Regions from separate parts of the Homo sapiens genome. Here regions 1 and 3 are each linked to region 2. The links are contacts of gene promoters, found by promoter capture Hi-C in blood cells and fetal thymus (Javierre and others, 2016). All regions are on one chromosome and are shown on one strand. Each heading gives the region's core, a stretch centred on a gene start or on the middle of the fragment in contact. The rest is flanking DNA. Distances are from core to core; before and after follow the strand shown.

Region 1 (4,548 bases), core at 1,286-3,785, 1.0 Mb after region 2:
CCAATAAAATAATGAACTTTATTAACAGCTCCACACCTTACTGGGTGGAGAGAACAAAGGTGAGAAGCAAAACTCAATCATTATGCTGGATCTGTGTGGAATGCCTTTAACAGAGGCATATATCTGAATAGAGGCCACACACTTGCTCAGGATGACCAAAGGAAGTAACATAATTTTAGCCAGAAAAAAAAGGCACACAGAAAGACCTAACTTGGAGTAATGAAACTACTGAGATGAAATGTCCAGCAAGGTAATAAGATGAGATCTGTTAAAACGATTTTTAAATGGGTAAAATATTTGAAGACACTTTGCAAAAGAAGTTGATGCCATAAGAACACAGGAAAATACTATCATAAATCATTAAGAAAATGTAAATTAAAACCAAAATGGCATACACCTATTGAAACTGAATATACCAAATTCTGCTTACGATGCAGAGCAACTTGAACTCTCATACATTGCTGGAGGAACTGCAAAGGTGCACAGGCAGTTTAAAAAACAATCCATCCATTTTCTAATAATCTGTGACAAAGCAATCCCATTCGTAGGTATTTACCCAAGTGAAGGAACATATTCACACAAACCTGTATGTGAATATAGCAACTTTATTCATAATCACCAAAAACTGAATTCAGTGAAGTAGCCTTCCACCTGGTGAATGAATAAATTTGTACATCCATGGCAATGCAATACTTCTTGGGAATAAAATAATGAACTACTGATAATATGGATAAGTCTCAAGCATCATGCTAAATAAAAAGCCAGACTCAAAAGCCTCCATTAGCTGGGCATAGTGGCATGCACTTGTAGTCCCAGCTACTCAGGAGGCTGAGGTGAGAGGATTGCCTGAGCCCAGGAGTTCAAGGCTGTAGTATGCTATAATGTCTGAACAGCCACTGCACTTGGGCAACATAGCAAGACCCTGTCTCTTAAAAAAACAGTCTCCATTTATATAGCATTCAGGAATAGGAAAAACTACAGGGAAGGCAAACACATCAATGGCCTCCTGAGCTGGGAATGGGAGTTAATTACAAAGGGACATGAGGGAATTTTTAGGGGTGGTGTGACTTCAATATCTTGACTGCTGATGATTGATTGATTACATGTTTGACAGAACTCACAGAACTCTACACTTACGAAGGAAAAAAAGTTTTGTTTTTCTAGCTTAACCAAAGTGGTACCAAACCTTTAAAATATCAAGCTTAGAAGAAGGGCTAGAACATGTCCATATTTTACCTCATTAGAAATAAAGAATAGGATGTTGAAAATGGTTTGTGCTTTAAGAAGACTGAACCAAGCTAGTAGCTCGGATTTGGGTGTCCACCACCTCACCTTCCAGGCTTATAACTGGTAATTCTGCTCAAGAATCTGTCCTCAGTGTTTTCAACATCGAGAATTAATTTGAGACAAACTACATCTAGTTCATAAACAAAGCTAGAATTAAAAAGGATTCCTGTCACAGGCCAAAACTAGTCTACAAACCCTCAGGGTGGCCAATTCTTGCTTTTAACAACAGCCAAAGATATTAAAGAATTCCATGAATACAGAGATGGATTTTTAAAAATACAAGTATATATAATACTAAAACCCTCAGGAAAGCCAACATCTTGAGGTACTCTGGCTCCAGAAGAATCCATTTCTGTGGGCCATATTCCAAGATCTAAGAGGTGTATCTGTTTGACTTTACTGAGTGGCTTTTCACCTGACAGACCAGACAAACTTAAAAGCTTTCAAGTCAAACTTTGGTAGGCAAAGGTAAAGTATGTCTTTTGTTTTAGAGTAGGTGAGCCTGCAGGTCAATTTGTCAAAAATATTAACTAACCACAACTATGAGACACTACACACAGTGTAGTTCCTGCCTTCATGGGGCTCAGTTCTGTTCACTGGAGTGGGTTTTATATATACCCAATAAATAGAAGTGTGACTGGCCTGTCCAATCTCGAAGTCAGAAAAGGGCCATGGGTAGCATCACATCCTTAGAGACTGGATGCAGTCACCAGACTTTGAGGAAAGAGGGAAATTCATCCCAACCTGTCATGCTAGCTAAGAGAGCAAAAAGTCAAGAATATGAACAATGTGACCTAGGCTCTGAAAGCTGACCAAGACACCATCTAAATAAACCTGGACTGACAATGAAAGGACTTTCGTTCTCCCTTAAAATAATGTTCAAAATAGCAAGGAAATAGAGCTTCAGATGTGTCTTGTGTCACCTGGTCTTTCATGTGACAGTCAAAGATCCACAATGTGAAAGTGGGATTAACCCATCTGTGAAGTTCTAGTCTGTGCAGTCACAATTGACCACTGCAGGTTTTAACAAGAGGACCCTGTGGGGACACAACAGACTTCAATTCTTTAGCCAGCTTTTCCTTGGCTCAGAATATGGAGAGAGCTGGAGGCCCTCCAAACCAGAGGATGTTCGCTGGTCTTCCCAGGAGAGAAATGAACTATCTTTTGTAAAAGTAAGTTTCAAAGGCCAAGTGTAGTGGCTCATGCCTGTAATCCCAGCACTTTGGGAGGCCAAGGCAGGTGGATAACTTGAGGTCAGGAGTTCAAAACCAGCTTGGCAAACATGGTGAGATCCTGTGTCTACTAAAAATACAAAAAAAAAATTAGCCAGGCATACTGGTACATGCCTGTAATCCCAGCTACTTGGGAAGCTGAGGTATGAGAACTGCTTGAATCCAAGAGGCGGAGGTTGCAGTGAGCCGAGATCGAGCCACTACGCTCCAGCCTGGGTGACAGAGTGAGACTCTGCCTCAAAAAAAAAAAAAAAAAAAGGAAGTTGCAAAACAGTAAAGGAACTCTCAACCCCTGCATTACATGATTAGGACAACAAATAGAAAAGTAATAAAGTTTACGATCATAAAAAAAAAAAAAAAGCAACAAAGAAGGGAGAGGGAAAAACAAACAAAAAAAAGCAAGACCTGACATTTCAAATGATTTCAAATGGAAGAAATAAAAGCTAAAACAAAAATTTTAAAACAATGTTTTTGAATAAAAAAGACTAGAAAGTTAAAAAAGGACATCTTCACATCTCAATAATATTGAAAAAGTTTTTTATATAAGACTGAAGTAGGCATAAGGGTAAATATGTGATAAGACTGAAAAGAAATTTTAAGGAAAGGATTAACCTATATTAAAGCGATAAAAAAAAAAAAAAGAGGAGTTACCAGAACAAGGAAAAACAAAAACCCAACAATAACAACTAGAAGTTGAAGGATAAGGGTCTGAAAAAACTTCTTTTCATGGGGGTCAGCAGGCAACAGATGAATGTATATTTATTTGGCTTCTCAGGAAAGAAAAGGAAAGAGGCAGAGAGCAGAGATGCCCTCTTAAAGCTTCCCCATTTGCCCAGAAGCTCATAATCTCTGACAGCACTTTGAGCCCCATCTGTGCGGCTGGTGGTGTGGTTCCCTAATCTGGCAAACCCAAAGCTTAACAGGTTCTACACCAACTAGTGAATATCCTGAACAAGTTCTCTTTTATTGCAGACAGTCACTTTTATAATCATACCTTATGTACATATCAGAAACAATTTGGAAGTAAAAAGCCAAATCTTACCAAAAATAAGTTATTTATTGCTTTAAAAAATAAACATTTATAATAGAATACCAAATTCTATTTAATCTAATGTGTTAACAAAAGCATAATATATTCCAGTAAACAAGGACTTCCAACTTATCCTATAACTAAAAAGTCAACTAAACAGTTGGTTTTAGCTAGAGACAAACATCAGTCACTGCCACCAAATTCCATTATATAAATTTATTTTGCTTCACATTTAAGGAGAAACCCAGCAGAGGGGTCGCCCTGCTCTTCCCCACTAGAAATGTACTGAAAAGTGACAAGCCCACAGAAGGAAAGGCTGTATAAGGAAGTAGGAGCTTCAGTCAAATTTCTACTTTCATTACCCTGAGGGAGGTGAAGGAGGGTGTTATTTTCATCAGGTCAACATGGATGACAGTTTGATCATAAAAAACAGCCCACATTAAGATTTCATTTGTGAAATATGGTGAGCATGATCATGCCCTAATGATTTCTTAGGGTTTGGCAGTGTCTCTGGTCACATGCCCATACTTAGGGTTGAAAGAAATGCTAATACTGTACCCTGGGTCTTCCTCAGATGCCACAGTGGCTCCTGCCCTAGGATGACTAAAAATACGGCTCTCCTTTCCTTAGAGATACTGGCTCACTATCAAGAATAGAGGTAGGGAGGCATTGTGAACTCCAGAAGAGTTGAGTCTATGGAGTTTATTCCACAGTGGATACATTAGGCTTTTTAGAGCTACAATGAGACTGTCAGTAATAGGCGATCACCTTTTTATACCTATGAAACATTTCTTAAAATTCTCTTGGGTTTGGCCCAAAAGAGTGACCAGATTGAAAACTACTCTGTTATTCTTAAGGACAAATGCAATTCCTTTAAAGTTACAAATCAGTACTTATATCCTATAGTTGAGCATGTCTTCACACCATCCCCTGTTTTTGGCCTCCATATAAACAGATGCATTGCACTGCTGCATGGTATATTCCATCTCAACCAGCTGG
Region 2 (4,738 bases), core at 1,981-4,480:
ATGGTCACCTTAAGTAAACAATCCATCCAGAATTTGAACTCTGATATATCTTATTTTAAGCCTGAGATGTTTCCACCTGTCGCTTTGCCTCCCATTCCTGAGGATAAGTTTAAAGCACGCTGGTTGCACCAGCATAAACTTTACTGAGCTTTTTCTTCCTTAATTGGTGGGGATAACTGGATTTTTAAAATGTCAGGGGAGGCAGATGCTTACAACCACTGCTGAAGTGAGAACCCTTAAAATAACTGGGCATAACTATAAAGGTCATGAACAGAGGTTTTCCAGGCAACAAATAAGCAAACAATAACAAAAGCATACTCATTCTCAAATATTTTTTAAAAGTCATTTGGAAAACACCACCTTAAAACCCTCCCTGAGAAATGACTGCAGAAATGTGACAATGGAATCCATCCCTGGAATAGAAATTGGCAGGTGTACTGTCCTAAATCCACAAAGGAATGTTGAAACACACTGAAAACAAATCTTAAAAGAATAGAGTCCAGGAATGCCAAAGTCTGAATATGCAAATAAAACAGTAAATTGTAGGACAACTTTCAGAACTTTTTGCGTACATGAGTGCATAATGCATACAAAAATGTATATATAGTGTATGTATATAAATACATATATTATATATAAAGAAAAAAGAGAATGAGAAGAGGTTGAGAAAGCAAGAGAAGCAGACAAGACAGTATCAAGAGATTGCTCTTTTATAGTTGGCAGATTTCTGAAATAAGAAATCATCTGTAATTCCAGCACTTTGGGAGGCTGAGGCGGGCGGATCACCTGAGGTCAGGTGAGACCAGCCTGGCCAACATGGTGAAAACCTGTCTTTACTAAAAATACAAAAATTAACCGGGCATGGTGGCAGGGGCCTGTAATCCCAGCTACTCGGGAGGCTGAGACAGGAGAATCGCTTGAACCCCGTAGGTGGAGGTTGCAGTGAGCCAAGATTGTGCCACTGCACTCCAGACTGGGAGACAAAGCAAGACCCTGTCTCAAAAGAAAAAAAAAAAAGAGGAAATCATCCTTACAGGAAAAGCTTACTTTCATAGATTAGGTGTCTGTCCTACTTTTATTGCTATTAATTGTAACCATTAATTTTATTTATTTATTTATTTATTTTTGAGACAGAGTCTCACTCTGTTGCCCAGGCTGGAGTGCCATGATGCAAGCTCAGCTTAATGCAACCTCCACCTCCTGGATTCAAGATATCCTCTTGCCTCAGCCTCCGAATAGCTGGGATTACAGGCACACACTACCACACCTGGCTAATTTTTTTGTATTTTGTATAGAGACAAGATTTTGCCATGTTGCCCAGGCTGCTCTTGAACTCCAGACCTCAGGTGATCTGTCTCCCTAGGCCTCCCAGAATGCTGGGATTACAGGTGTGAGCCACCACACCCAGCCCCATTAATTTTAATTTGATTTATTTAATCACAATTAAAATGAAAGTAACACTGTTTTAGTGAACAACCAATTGTATCACAGAGGAAAAGGCAGTTTAGAAAGTGCCCCCAGTGTTGTGAACCTTGTCATAGTGTTACGAGAAAGCCGAAGGGTCTGGAGATACTGGAGTAGTCATCATTCTTATTGAATATTCACATTTGCTTTCATGTGTTTTCCTGTCTTTTCTTATCTAAACAATTCTGCAACTTATGCCTATGCAGACAGTTACCACTCATGTTCAGGTTTCATAAGAATCTCGTATTTTACTGGAAATGTTTACTTTAGAAACATAATTTCATCATAACTGTCATGAATCTTGATTTTTATTCTCTCAGATTTTGCTTATCAAAGGGGAACAAAAGGAAAAGAAAAGAAAAGAAAAATCCAAAGCTTGGCATTGTTACTATTAATCCCCCTAGATGGCATGCTAGCATCTTTTACTAATGTGATTTCACTGAATGTACTTTAACAGTCTCTAAAAATGAGTAACAAGAACTATTCATCCAGGACCTGTTTTGGGAGAACTGTGAAAAGTTTAATGTTATAACACAAAATGACAGTCACATCTGTATATGTCCATACCTGGATAAATAGTTCTTGTAAGAAAAAGAGAACATTTTCAAGACTAATAAAATGCCATTTGAAACACTATAGTTTATTATAATATGGTATCTATGTCTAAATGATGCCAAAATAAGTTATTTATCAATAATTTATTTGATTTTAAAAAACAAATTGTTCAACATATAGGCAAAAATTACATGTTATCTAAATATTGTTCTTTTTTAGTTATTTTTATGATACTATATAGCTCCAGCATAATTTTATGATGAACTGTCTGCACTTTTTAAACTTTCGAGAGAACCATAGAAATAACAAGTACCAAAATTATTCTTTATACAAGCTCAAAACTCTCAAAAGGAGAAAAAGATGAGAATTCCAAAGCACTTACAAACAGGCTACATGTTATATATTATTTTAAGGTTGTACAGTATATTAAACTCAAGCAAATATAAATTTTTAGAAATATATTTCCGTTGTTATAAAAATCAAGACTGAATGATTAGCAATAGTTGTTAAATAAAAGTATGTTCGATGGTTAAGCTACCTTGAGATGAAACTTGCTGAATCACGAAAACAGACAGCAGCAACAACAGGTAAATGGGAAGTGTTTTCCATGCCATCGTTGTTTTCAGGTACCGTAGGTACCCTTGCTGAAAATAAAATAAAAGTATCAGAAAACAGCTCTTTCATCTCACCACTAACTTAGGCTTGCATTATACACATTTCAGTAACTTTAAAAATGTAACAATAATAAAACCATCCCATTCTTGAAACAAGACTTTAAATCAGCTTTAATTTTATAGAAAATATTTGGCCATTAGACTTAATCTTATGCAGAACAAATCAAGTCACCCTCAGCCACGTTATTGACAGTTTTAATTCTTAAGAAATCTCCAATATAGAATAGACTTATCTTAAAACTCTAGCCAAAGTATGGCATGTACTTAACAGTGCAAGGTTAAAATTTTATCTTAAGGAAAATAATAACCTGTGTCACAGAAATGTAATTTAATAAGCATCATGGAGTTACTGTTCCAACTTTTTCTTAATTCTCAATATAAATTCAAAGGCTTCCAACAGGTGTATTGCATAAACATAATCCTTTTCAAAAATTTCCAACTACTATCTTTACACATTTTTTTTCAAACACCTCTAATGAAAACACATTTAATTCTATGAAGCAAGTTAACTTTGACACTTACCCGTAAAGGATAGATGAGTTTATCCCACGTCCTGGGAGTCTTATATATCAGTGCAAATACAGTGGGATGAACCAATTAGTCCAAAGGTTAGACAAAATCAACAGTGACAACCTATGAAATCAAACTTTCCTCATTTATTGGAAAAGGGCCCAGACGACTAGACTTAGGCAACATCTGGAAAACACTTCCATTAAGCAAAATGACTACCACAAAATAAATTTAGATGTATTGGCCAGAGCACATTTCTAATTTCTAAGTGAAGTGAACAAATTGTCCTGAGATGGTAAATAGCTCTGGCAGACTTTGACTAGTATATTGAAGCAGCAACTTTAAAATATTCACATACTGGTATCATTTATTTCTTCTGCTTTCCAGTTAAATCTAGCAAAGGTAGCTTTGAAATTTACCTAGTGTTAGCTTGTGGCATACATTTTATATACTTATACCATTATATCAAATATACATTTCTTGAGTAGTTTCATTTTCTCTGAGCACAGAAAACATGCTCTCAGTTACCTACAGGTAGATTATTGACACTGGATTTTCTAGCTTCCTTTATTATTTTAAAAATCTGCTTAAAAAATGTATTGATATTTTCCTTAGATCCTTCCTTTAAGATAAGCATGTTTGGAAAAGGTCTTTTAAATTACTAATTTTGTTTCCTTCCCACAATGAAAATGTGAACCATCACCATTGCAGAGCTAAGTCAGCTCAGCCCAAGGCTTTACCCCACTTTCATACGGAATGTATCGGTGTAAAATCTTACCCACCAACATAAGGCTTCGCTCATGTCCTAGCACCTCCCTGAAACCTTTCCAGATCAAATTCCAATCACATCTAGAATTATAGTAAACAATTGTACTACGTTTTACTAAAATATCTCTTCATCTGTCTCACACCCCCAACAGACTATGATTTCCCTAAGGACAACCAACACCTATATGTTAGTCTATTGCCAACATACAGCCCAGTTGTTTCACCAATGTTATATGTTTAAAACATGCTCACGCCGGGTGCAGTGGCTCACCCCTGCAATCCCAGCACTTTGGGAGGCTGAGGTGGGCAGATCACCTGAGGTCAGGAGTTTGAGACCAGCCTGACCAACATGGTGAAACTCCCTCTCTACTAAAAATACAAAAAATTAGCCGGGTGTGGTGGCAGGCGCCTGTAATTCCAGTTACTCGGGAGGCTAAGGCAGGAGAATCACTTGAACCTGAGAGGCAGAGGTTGCAGTGAGCTGAGATCACGCCACCGCACACCAGCTTGGGCAACAAGAGCAAAACTCAGTCTCAAAAAAAAAAAAAGAAAAGAAAAAAAAGAAAACATGTTCAGTGAACCACATGGTTGTAGGCTGGATTCTGCTGTCTACTACTCATTTGGTAGGTACTGCATTTAATTCTCACAAAATGTCTTAAAGTTAAATATAATCATCCACATTTACAAATAAGAAGATGAAGACCCACAAATGAAGAATGTGTGACCCATCCAAGGATCTATAAAGACTAGAGGCCAGAACCAAGATT
Region 3 (4,549 bases), core at 386-2,885, 1.6 Mb after region 2:
TGTATCAATTATGGAAAATACAGAAACTGTAAAAGAGGAAATGAGGAAAACCTTTGCTTCTCACTGTTACAGATAACTACTGTTCAAAATTATAGATAACAACTCTGGAGGCTGAGGTAGGAGGACTGCTTGAGCCCAAGAGTTCGAGGCTGCAGTGAACTATGATTGCACCATTGCACTCCAGTCTGGGTGACCAGCAAGATCCTGTCTCTAAAAAAAATAAAAATAATAAAAATTTTAAAAATATTTAATTAAAAAATTATAATGAATAATAATTTATTGTATATTTTAAAACAACTACAAGGAAAGAATTATAATGTTCATGACACAAAAAAAGATAAATGTTTGAGGTGACAGACATCCCAATTACCCTGACTTGATCATTACATGTTGTATACATGTATCAAAATATCACATGTACCCCAAAAATATATATAACCATGATATATCAATTAAAACATACTAAAAAAGAGCGATAACTACTCACTTTTCCTTTACTTAGAGTGTTTCATTAATACATTTACTGTTTTACAGAATTGGTATCACATTGTAGGTTACTATACTACACTTTTAAAATGTAATATTTCATAAACATTTTACCATGACATCAAATAATCTTAACACATTTAAGAATTAATGGTTGCCTTCCAATTTTCTTTGCAAAGTGGTTCATTATTTTTGTCATGGAAAAATAAATTTACACTTGAAAGAACTTTATTGTGTTAAAAAAATACTTGTAAGAGGGCTGCACTGCTTTGCCCAACAATGCAGTGTGTTATGTTTTATGTGTAGTGCAGGTCTGATGAAAGGTGATAAGCCTCCAGTAGTAACCATGATATGTGAAATGGAGATAAAGATGGTTGATTTTGTGAGGATTAAATGAGATCAGATAGGCAATGTGTCTCTAAGACAGTGTGGGCCATGGTGAATGCTGTCATGACAAAATTATGTTAGTCAAGGACATTGCTAAGAGAATAAGATGGGTGCTGGTTGGGGGTGACCTGGAGAATTGGAGGATAGCCCTGCCAGTGGCTGCTGAAGCCAGCTCCTACAGGATATCAAAAGCCAATGTTAAATACTCAGGAACTTTACAAGCTGGTTGTAAAAGCCTGTGAAATTTCACTGGTAGCTTGAAATCTGTTATGGTATGAGCATTTACACCACCAAAATTGGAAATCAGCAAATGCTATATTGTTCTCTATGTATGTATGTACTTTTCAGAGAGCTGATTTTACCAGCACACCACTAGCAGGGATAATTCAAAAGCTTTGCTTTTTCTCAAAGTGGTGGAGCCTGCAGGAAATGCTTGTGAGGGCTTGTAAAGCATTAGTAGATTTTGTTGAGATGGTGTGTGATAAACATGAGCTGAAATCTTGGTCTGATTGCTCTTGCTCTAACTGGAGGAAAGAATAGGGAAGCATAAGCGTTGGGGAAGCTAAAAGGGTAAACCTGGGGAGTTATTGTTTATGCTCCAAAAACAGAAATAACTGGATTAGAGGATAAGACTGCAGGAGATGGGAAGCCTTGTCACTTGGAGTGACAAAGACCTATTAGTAAATGGGAAACTCAGGGCTGAAGAGACATTCTTGGCCAAGAGAAACTTGTGGGAAGGAGTTTGATCGATGAACAAACACAGCAGTCTCTTTTGCCATAGAAGGCAGGTGGCAAGGATCAGAGTCAGAGGGTCCGTGCGCTACAAGGGTTCACAGATCACTGGTCTGTCTTCTTCATCTGACCCTGTCAATTACTTCTGAGATTCCCCACCCCCACCTCCAGGAGCTCAGGTGCAGGCTATAGTCTTCTTCTGCCACTTCTCTGTTCTGTCAGCACACCACTGCTTCTGTGCCCTTTGCCCTTGCAGTTTGGGTTTTCCAAAGGCAGAAGCAAGGACAGCGTTCTTCAAGAGGACTTCATGGTGTTTTAGAGATCAACACCTTGGAAAGGAAGAAAAGAAAGAGAATAGGGCCTGGGAAGACAGCTTCAATGCAGACCCAATAAAGCTTCCGGCAACCAGGTGAAGAATCTCCGGAGAGACCATTGCCCTTCAAATGTTCTGTGCCACCTGGGCCAGGATTTTAATAAGCTGCTTTGCTCAGTCTCCATATGAGAGCTGCCCAGGAAGGGAATGTCAGGGGCAAGGAGACTGCCTGCAACTGAGGCAGACCCTGGAGAGATAGAGGCGGGGGACTAACTACACTCCCACAGTGATCTGCTTTTGGGGAGGTGGCGTGGCAGAGAAGACACAGCTTTCTTCTTCCTCCACAGTGAGGGAGCAGCCTCCTTCACTACCCTCAGTATTGGTGCTCTTTAGAGGAATTTTCTGAAGGGCTGGGGACATCAAAAAGGAAGTAGGACACAGTAGAGAATAGGTCATAATTAATGTTAGAGGTGGCCACTGTCAGGGCTCACAGGTCCAGGTGGGCCTATCCTTGGCCTCTGCAGAGGGTTTTGGGGCCAGGCTCCACTGGCTGGGCCTGCCCACCCCTGCATCATGACTTCCTGTCCAGACCCAACTGCCCAAGGTCAGGAGAGAAGAAAATGCTCTCTGCCTCAGCCCAACTCAGGGCCTGGCTTCCCAGGCTCCATTTCTTGTGTTAGGATCTACCCTTTCTCAGCATTTTTTCAAAGGGGGAATGACTGCCTCTTTCTTGGGGAATGCCATTTTACACACACAGGTGGGGAGTGGGTGGGACAGCCACCTCAAGCTGGTTTCTCTTCAGCAGATTCTGGGTGGCTTAATCTTACAAAATGGTTTAGGCAGAGCTGCCCTAGGCCAGTCCATTTCTTTCTTACTGTGTCATACATGGGATTTGGTCCTGTAGCACTTCTTTCCAGCTCTCTACATCTTGCAAATTATGCTTTAAAAATCCTCATGCGTTTGATATAGGGTGCATTCTAAATCATTCAGAAAAGGAAAACATTTCTCCTATTTTTCTCTTTCCCTCCCTCCTCACCATAAAACAAACATGAAATCTCCAGTCAGAAGAAAACATAACCCAGTCTACAGAAATCTGAGCTCTGGCACAAGCAGACACATGTTAGCATCACCCTGCAGAACACTCAGCTTCTGAGGCAAAAATATTTCTTTTGGGAGAGGGATGATTTTACTAGGTTTTTTCTGAATAAACTTTATGAAACCACACGGTTTCTTCATATGGTTTTCCCAGAATAAAAGGACAGTCTACCAAAAGTGAATTTGAGTTTCAGTCTTTTCAGGAAACAGTGGCTTGCATTTTAAAATCATTGTTTTCTTCAGCTTTTAAATTAGTTAAAAATTAGTTAAAAAACAAATTAGGAAGAAAATTCTAGCTACAGGATTCCATAAGAGATACACATAACTGTGAAAATAAGAAAAAAATTCCCTATGAATAAATTGAGAATAACTTGAGTGGGAAAGCTTTAAAAGGTTTAAAACAGAAGAAAACTATCATGCAAGCATACTAATACATATTATTGCAAAAATGTTTAAGAAAGAATGAGCAAAGAGAACAATGTATCATAATAGTAATAATATTTGACCAAGGAGGGCTTATTATAAAAATACAAGAATATAAGAATGGTTCAATATTAATAAATATATTAATGAAATTCATTATATCAGTATATTAAAGCACATTATTAGTCAAAAAACTAAGTAAAGTTATAAATAGAAAAGTATGAAAATATGATAATGATGAACAAATATCAATAGCAAACATCATCATAAATAATGAAATGAGAATACCATTTTCATTAAAATCAAGAACAGAAAAGACATGCTCATTATCCCCAAAATTCAACATTAGTTAATTCTAGTAAATGCAAGAAGGCAAAAATTGAAATATTTTGCATAAATATGGAAAAAGAAGAGATGAAAGATCATACTTTAGTAATGTAATTTTATACCTAGAAAATTCAAGAAATATCATAATATTAGAATTAATATGAAAATTTTACAGGATATAAATATAGACCTGAAAGGCACAGGAGCCATATGAAGTTAGCTATAATATTTTATCAAATGATCTAAAGCAAGATCAGAAAAGTAATCAAAATATATAGTATGGAAAGGAAAACTTCACACCATAAAAATGTCATTTTCCTCAATAGTAACATGTATAATTAATGGAATTTTAATTTAAGTGGAATTTAAGTAAGGTTTTTATTTAATTAGATACAGAATTTTTTAAGATTCATGTGGAAGACTATGTATGTCCAAGAATACACATAAAATAATGAGGAGAGAGTAGCAAAGGAGGACTTTACTACCAGTTCAACTACTGGAAGTCTGTTCTATAGAAATAAAGCCACCAGTATAAGGATATTCACTGCAGCATTGCTTGTGGTGGCAAACATCAAGAAACAAACTGAGAATTCATTGAAAGGGGAATGGGTAAAATCATGGCATATTCTTAACCATGTAATGTTGGGCACTATTTAAATAGAGCTTTACCAATTGATTTGGAGAGATTTTCACAAAACGTTTTTAAGTGATAGAACAAACTTCAGAGAATGTATAGGGAAAAAACATTTTTGTAAAACAAATATTGACAACCCTTAAATACATGTA

Evidence for each region. The method cuts DNA at HindIII sites, captures the fragments that hold promoters and counts their contacts. A CHiCAGO score of 5 or more calls a contact.
Region 1: a contact is called between a fragment that was not itself captured here and the fragment with the promoter of PRG4 in region 2, in 1 of 17 cell types (non-activated CD4 T cells). The highest score is 5.1, in non-activated CD4 T cells.
Region 3: a fragment that was not itself captured here is called in contact with the fragment with the promoter of PRG4 in region 2 in 1 of 17 cell types (total B cells); the score reaches 5.2 in total B cells.

What each region holds. Positions count from the first base shown.
Region 1 is chr1:185,290,698-185,295,245 of GRCh38, reverse strand. SWT1 (SWT1 RNA endoribonuclease homolog) reads right to left here. Exons shown (of 19, transcript NM_017673.7): 19 at 3,465-4,548. The coding sequence ends at 4,443. Among named protein-coding and RNA genes, the nearest start is that of IVNS1ABP, 24 kb to the left of the region's middle. The HindIII fragment of the contact is 1,611 bases long and covers 1,730-3,340 here.
Region 2 is chr1:186,294,771-186,299,508 of GRCh38, reverse strand. It overlaps PRG4 (proteoglycan 4), which reads right to left and starts at 3,230. Exons shown (of 13, transcript NM_005807.6): 1 at 3,216-3,230; 2 at 2,558-2,663. The coding sequence starts at 2,633. The HindIII fragment of the contact is 3,679 bases long and covers 1,842-4,738 here.
Region 3 is chr1:184,658,780-184,663,328 of GRCh38, reverse strand. No RefSeq gene overlaps it. Among named protein-coding and RNA genes, the nearest start is that of EDEM3, 94 kb to the left of the region's middle. The HindIII fragment of the contact is 734 bases long and covers 1,269-2,002 here.